Regions from separate parts of the Homo sapiens genome. Here region 1 is linked to region 2. Evidence: promoter capture Hi-C in 16 types of primary human blood cells and fetal thymus (Javierre and others, 2016). All regions are on one chromosome and are shown on one strand. The core of a region is centred on a gene start or on the middle of the fragment in contact, and the rest is flanking DNA. Distances in the headings are between cores, read along the strand shown.

Region 1 (3,668 bases), core at 838-3,337, 160 kb after region 2:
GAATTCATGACTGATTCTGTGTCATGCAATTAGCAACTGTGGGCTTTCTGTCTGAGAATCTTACGGCCAAAGATGCCTGGCCCTCAGTAACACTTAGCGCTGTAAATTAACCAGCTATCACGGGGAATCAAATCATGGCCACTGTTGTCACTCTTGACATTAATCCCATACTTAATTATGCCCAATTTTATGCATCTAAGTAGCCAAAAAAGAAAGTTTCTAATAAACATCTGATTAACGGTAAGACAGTGATATAAAGCGTAGTGCAAATAACCCTGGATTAGGGTGGGTGATCAGCAAGAGCTTTTCGCTCTGAATTTCAGGACAAGTAACACAACCTCAGCATGTTCTCCTTTACTGTAAAAGGGATACGTGTTATCACCCACGTAAGACTGAAGGAATGTAAACTATTAAACCAGTATTAGAGTTCTTAAATGGGTCAAGTCATAATCATTCAAGTGTTCAATTTTTTTTTAACACCAACTGCACATAACAAACTTCTGAATGTCCAAAACTTCCTGAAACATTTACGTCATTTTTCGTTCATTAAAAGGGCAGGTTAAGCCTGGGCCACATGGTGAAACGCCCTCTCTACAAAAAAAAAAAAAAAAAAAAAAAATTAGCCGGGCATGGTGGCCTGCACCTGTAGTCCCAGCTACTCAGGAGGCTGAGGTGGGAAGATTGCTTGAGCCTGGGGAAGTCGAGGCTGCAGTGAGCCGTGATAACACCACTGTACTCCAGTCTGGGCAACAAAAATAAAAATAAAAAAAGGGCAGGTTAGTTTTTCGCCGTATTTAATACTAACAGTATAAAAGAAGAGTATATGTTGCTCTAGGCCTTCTTTCGGGTCATAATCATTTAAATCTCAAAGTATGTGTCTGCATTTAACATGAATGAACTGTGCTAATGCCTGATTACCTCAAGTCAACTCAGAATCATCACATTAAGTACTGAACGCAGGGAGTTAAATGCCCTCCCAAAAGTCATGGAGCACAGACAAGGCCAGAAGCCATGGAGACTCCTGGGTGGTGGTGGTGACCTTGAGTCCTATTTACCTTTGTGCATTTCACAGGACTTCTCAGGACAATGTCTCACACATAGCGGGTGCCCAGTGAACTTCTGAAACACCATCCAGGGTCTCAGAAGGCTGCCTGATGCTCTAGTTCAGGTATACCATATAGATGAAACACTTCTCAGCTACAATAATTTCAAAAGACTGTAGAGCACACACTAATCAGGTACGAGAGGTGACAGCTACCTTAAAGACCACCAAGTGCTGAGTATTTAGTAAACACTATACAAGTGAGGACTTCAAGGACAGACTGGAGGAAGGCGGGGGTGTGCTCTGACGAGGCCAGGACTCAGACAGCGTGGGAAGGGGACACAGTTGGCAGGCGGTAACTGCGGGCGAAGTGAGCGTGCTATCGGGCAGGGAAGGCGGGGTGTGTGGGACTTGGAGGGGGCAAGTGAGGACTACTCGAGGAGGGCGGCCAGTCCGCGCTGCCGGGGGATCGACGGCGGCCCCTTACCCGGACGTCCGGCCCCTCCACCAGCTTGAGGGCCTGCGCCTCCAGCAGGTCGGCCCGCAGCTGCACCAGGAAGCGCACGCCGCCGTCCAGCTTGCTGATGTGGTGGAAGAGGCCGCGATAGCGCGGCACCAGCGCGTAGCGCAGCCGGTCCTCGGCCTGCAGCAGCACCGCCGCCTCCCGCTGCTGCTGGCGCAGATGGAGCACGCCGGCGCTCTGCTCCGCCACCTGGCCGTGGTCCACGCCGAAGCCCCGCGCCAGGCGGCCCAGCAGTTCGGCCCGCTGGGCCGTCTCGGCCAGCCCACCGTAGAAGCTCACGAAGTCCGCGCACTGACCCTCGGCGGGCGCCGGTGTCTTCTCGCGCAGCTCGTAGGCCGGCGTCGGCGGCACCGCGCGGCGCAGCAGCTCGTCCATGGCCCGCTCCAGGGCGCCGGCCGCCTGCCCGCTCGCCAGCCGGGGCCCGGGCGGCCGCGGGGGCAACCGCAGCGGGAGGAGACGCCTGGCCGTCAAGCCTGGCCCGAAGCCTCGCATGGTGCCCCACAACAGCTGCCGAGGGGGAGCGCCGCCGCCGCTGCCGCGCTTCCGGCTTCCGGCGCGCGCCGGCCCCATTGGCCGAGGCCGCGAGCCCGGCTGGGGACGCGGCCAATAGGAGGGCGGGGCGGTGGGGGCGAGGCGGCGGGGGCGGAGCGGCTCTGGCGGCGGCCGGAGGCCAAGTGTGGCTAAAGGTTACTGCCCCGCGGCTGGGCTGCCTCGGGGCCTGCTCCCGCGCGGCTGGCGGCTTGTACTCCGGTCCTAACACCTGACCGCCTAAAGGCACCGGCCCAGCCCCTCCTCTCTTTCCCGACTGCACTGCACAAGTGCCGCCTCCTCTCTAGATCCGAGCGCCTCCAGCCTCCCGGTGCATCAGAGTCACCTGGGAACTCCTGCACCGGAGGATTCCTGGGCTCCGAAATCAGAATCCTAGAGATTCAGATTCAGTGTGTCTGGGAGGAGCCAAGGAATATGCTTGCTTAAGAGGTGTTTGTGGCAATCCTCTGGCATGGTAGGTAGCCTTTGTTTGACCCCTGCCTAGGCACTCACCATTCGCGTCAGTGTCTTACACACATGACGCTCAGAGCCACAGAGGTTGGAGGGGTGTGTGAGTGTGTGTGGAGAGAGAGAGAATATGTCTATATGTATGGATGTATGTACACATACGCACGCATATACACATACATATGTATGTAAAAGAGACATGGAGACAGAGAGACTGATGGAAAGCCATACCCTTGAGCAAATGCCAGAATGAGACAAAGAGTTTTCTTTGAAATAGTTTTCAGATAATTGCAGTTATCAAGGCATATTTATTTTGTCCTCTAGAAAGATAGGCCTGAACTCTAGTTCCCCCTCCTTCCCCAATCCATTACAATCTGTAGAAGAGAATGTCACATACCAGCCATGTCTCCCACATGCAAAATTGCAGGAGGCATTAGGAACACAGTGGGATTTTGTTCCACTCTGATGGAAATATGGCATCTTTGGTTGGAGGGTGAGGGAGCCATGTACTTGGTTGACTATGTCTAGGTGCTAGGATTTCTATAGGTAGAACCCTTTGGTGCAGGTCTTGCAGTATAAAAGACACCTGGAGGTAGTTCTGTATGAGGACAGCCTTTGCTGGGTGTGTCTCATCTTATGGGGCACGAAGAAAGTACGTTTGGCTCATTCTGCCAAGACACAGACACACAAAACATTCTGAAAGCCTAGTGGTGGCTTTTGAGGACACCTCTCCATTCCTCTTTTCTAAGAAGTGGTGAAACCATATTGCCAGCTGGCTAAGGGAGTTGGTGGGGTCCAAACTCTGGTGTTTGTCTCTTTGCCTTGTCGAGTGAGCTTTTGTCTGTCCTAGGATACTCCTGCCTTGCTTTAGGAATCTTGTCTTGAAAGCTTGACTTTGCTTAAGCATTTGCTAAGTGTAGTACTCCCACAACCCTGTTCTTTCTCATCTTTCCCGGTGCCTTCCTTTTTATGTAATTTCTGGCTTCTGTTTTTTTTTTCTCTGTGTTTATACTTTTTTCTCTAGGCGTCAACAGCCATCCTCTGCTTTTTCCCACTCATGTCCTTATTTCAAAAGACTGCCCCAATCCAAAAATGAAATTAAAGAAA
Region 2 (3,591 bases), core at 161-2,660:
CCTTTCAGGATAATAAGAGGGGACACAATTTAGGTTTTTTTTTTAAGATAGAGGCAGCACCTTTGCAATTGTAAATATTATGTACTGCCATGGCAAGTAAAAATGAAAGTGGATAGATACGGAAATACACACAAAGTGAATTTTGCTAAAACAAATCAATGGCACTTAAGACATTTCTATTCTAAAAGGCTTATTCTTAAGGCTTTTCTATTCTAAAAATTTGCAATGTTTTAATTGAATATTAGATTTTGTAAATGTGGTTTATTTGTCACGTGGATGAAATATCAGGAAATAACTCACTGCTCAGTGGAAACTCTCATGGCTGTTGTTTTTTGTTGTGTTGTTTCAGGATTGGAGGTTTTAAAGCAGGAAACAGCAGTTGTTGAAAACGTCCCCATTTTGGGACTTTATCAGATTCCAGCTGAGGGTGGAGGCCGGATTGTACTGTATGGGGACTCCAATTGCTTGGATGACAGTCACCGACAGAAGGGTAGGAAAAACGCAGATGGACTTTGTGACTTCGGCACTCAGATCCTTTCTTCCCTTTGTCTCTGGAAAGGCGCCCGTGAGATGCTGGCAGATCAGCCGACATCTGTTCACTTGAGCCAGGCTCAGCTGGAGATGTTGCAGTCACTTTGATTGCTTGGAATATTTTGATAGGTGTCTGAGTGTGCACACATTTAATAAGCAAAACAAAGCTACTTGTTGGGGCCATGATGCCTCTTCTCCATCTTCACCTTCCTGAGGCCAGCGGAGGCGGGACTCCCGCGTTGTGGTGGAGAGTCCCTTCCCTGACTTCCTTGGGGCCTGCCCCTCCCAGGCTTCCTACGCCGTGCTGCCTGGACTTTGTGGGCACTGCCACGAGGGGGCGCCCTTCTCTGGTCTGACTCACTCTTTTACTGGAGGGCTGGCTCTTGGCTGTCCTTCCAGACCTGGAATTCGGGCTTTTCTTAGCCTTTATCAGTGAAGAGCGTTTGTTATCTCGAGGCGTGAAGGGGAGGCAAATAGGCATGCCAGTCCTCTTCCCTCCGCGTCTTTATGTCAGTCTCTCGATGCATCCGTTGGATTTGGGGGCTTGAGGTTGGGCACAGACTATTTTTCTCATTTTGTAAAGGGGAGAAAGAATGGTAAAAGTGCTCCATGTTTTTACCTGGTGAGATGATAATGACACCAGGACTGAAAGGCAACCTTCTAATGCGCTGTGACCACTGGGGAACTCGAGGCACAGGGCGGGTGGTGAGTGACAAGAATGAGGCACTAACAGCGTGCGCTGAGAGGTGTGTGTGTGCCCCTCCGTTTCAGGCTGAAGTTGACTACATTCCTGGCATTTATGTAAATCCCTAGACTGGGATGGGTCTTTTTAAAAATCAAAAATGGGCCGGGCGCGGTGGCTCACGCCTGTGATCCCAGCACTTTGGTAGGCCGAGGTGAGTGGGTCACAAGGTCAGGAGTTCATGACCAGCCTGGCCAACACAGTGAAACCGCGTCTCTACTAAAAATACAAAAATTAGCCAGGCGTGGTGGCGTGTGCCTGTAGTCCCAGCTGCTTGGGAGGCTGAGGTGGGAGAGTTGCTTGAACCCGGGAGGCAGAGGTTGCAGTGAGCCGAGATCGTGCCACTGCACTCCAGCCTGGGTGACAGAGCAAGACACTGTTTTAAAAAATAATAATAAAATAAAATTAAAATTAAAAGTGAGGGTTAAAGTCACAGTTAAAGGAGGTTAATGTTTTATTTCCACAGAGATTTTAAGACCTGAGATCTCCTGGTAAGAGTCTTTATTAAATTGTAAATGCCTGAGAGGGTGGTCCTAGGCCTTACATTTAAAATGGCAGCTTTTTTCATCTTTCAGGGGCATTAAGCACTTGACCAGAAGTGCCCTTTAATGAGAGGAAAGTACTTAATGGCATTTTTCTCACACGGATCTTGTCTAGTCCAGGTTGATGTTAATGGAACTTGAAGGGGCAGACACAGGAGAAACAAGATGGAAACAGAAGCTCCAGGTTTCAATACCAGGTTGCGCCTTCCCTCTCAGAAAGGATCCTTTGTGAACGGGAGCTGTTGCTAGCCCAGTGCCTCGACTCTGAGGTGTCCCTGAAAACAAATTGCCCTTTCTCTGCTGTCACACTTCCAGTGGTCAGGGCCCTGCCGACTCGAAGCCCAGCTCAAGTGAACAGATGCTGCATGGGTGTTGAGCCTTGCCTCCACCCCCTGGGGTGTCAGTACAGTTCCTTCTCCCCAGGAGAGCCTCTGGGATGCAGCAGGAGCCATGGCCCTCCGTTCTCCTCTCCCTGTTGCCCCTGAGACCCCGCTCTCAGGCCCTTCTTTTCTCAGTGGGTGTCACATGGTCTCACTGTCTCTGAATGAGCTCCATTCTGCCCCCATCCATGAGGAGCTGAGTGTGGCACTCAGGCAGTTGGTGCAACCTGGTGGACAGTGGTGCTGACCACCTGGAACCCTGGGGCACTGGGAGTGGAGCCCTGGTCAGGTCATGGCTGTGTGTGCTTATCTGGCTGGGCTGGGCCACTGAGAATGCATGTCTTATGAGAATAGGGGAATCTGGAACATGTTGGATTTACTTTGACCTAAACTCGTGACTTCTGAACTCCCATTTCCCCCACTTTTGGGGACTAACTTAAAAAAAATTCCTTTAGAGATTTCTTCTTAAAAGCTAAATTCCGGGCCACGTGTGGTGGCTCACACCTATAATCCCAGCACTTTGGGAGGCTGAGGCAAGAAGATCACTTGAGCCCAGGAGTTTGAGACCAGCCAGACCCATTTCTGCAAAAAATAAAAAATTAGCCGGGCATGCTGTCATGTGCCTTCAGTCTCAGCTACTTGGGAGGCTGAGGCAGGAGGATCACTTGAGCCCAGGAGCTCAAGGCTGCAGTGAGCTATGATTGCGCCACTGCACTGGGTGACAAGAGCGTGACTCTGTCTGGAAAAAAAAAAAGGAATTCCTAAACAGGCTTGTTGACTTCGCAGACTGCTTTTGGCTTCTGGATGCCCTCCTCCAGTACACATCGTATGGGGTGACACCGCCTAGCCTCAGTCACTCTGGGAACCGCCAGCGCCCTCCCAGTGGAGCAGGCTCAGTCACTCCAGAGAGGATGGAAGGTGAGTGGATGGGCAGGATGCCTTGGGGAGGGAATTGGATCCAGCTGAACATGATGCTACTTCAGCCAGTGGCTGTGCCTGCCAGCAAGTGGGGCCAGTTTGTGTGCGCCGCTGAGTGGTTTTCGTAATGGCTGCGGGTAGAGCAGCACTCAGCGGCTCTAACCTGCCGAGAGGCCATCCTTAGTCCCCAGAGGGCCATGATCGAGGACCCAGTGTGCAGCTGCTTTCCCACGTGCACCCCGACCCTCACGCCACTCTGAGTGTGTTTACCGTCCCGCTCTCACAGGTGAGGACAGTGGCTCCTACAGATCTTCAGGAAGAATCACCAACATTCTAGAGCACTTGCCAGGTCCCATGCAGCAGGCTGGGATGCTCCCATGGATTACCTCACTGTCCCCTCTCAGTAATCCTGTGAAAATAGATGTTATTATTCCCAGTTTCCAGATGAGGAAATGAGAGCTGAGAGAAATTAGATAAC

The links. Contacts are between HindIII fragments. The CHiCAGO score rates a contact against its expected background, and 5 or more counts as called.
Region 1: a contact is called between the fragment with the promoter of MLYCD here and a fragment that was not itself captured in region 2, in 1 of 17 cell types (neutrophils). The highest score is 5.9, in neutrophils.

The regions. Positions count from the first base shown.
Region 1 is chr16:83,897,534-83,901,201 of GRCh38, reverse strand. It overlaps MLYCD (malonyl-CoA decarboxylase), which reads right to left and starts at 2,087. Exons shown (of 5, transcript NM_012213.3): 1 at 1,530-2,087. The coding sequence starts at 2,057. RefSeq lists silencers at 1,418-1,587, 1,888-2,317. The HindIII fragment of the contact is 8,175 bases long and covers 1-3,451 here.
Region 2 is chr16:84,060,204-84,063,794 of GRCh38, reverse strand. MBTPS1 (membrane bound transcription factor peptidase, site 1) reads left to right here. Exons shown (of 23, transcript NM_003791.4): 19 at 350-490; 20 at 2,982-3,113. Among named protein-coding and RNA genes, the nearest start is that of SLC38A8, 19 kb to the right of the region's middle. The HindIII fragment of the contact is 6,401 bases long and covers 1-3,591 here.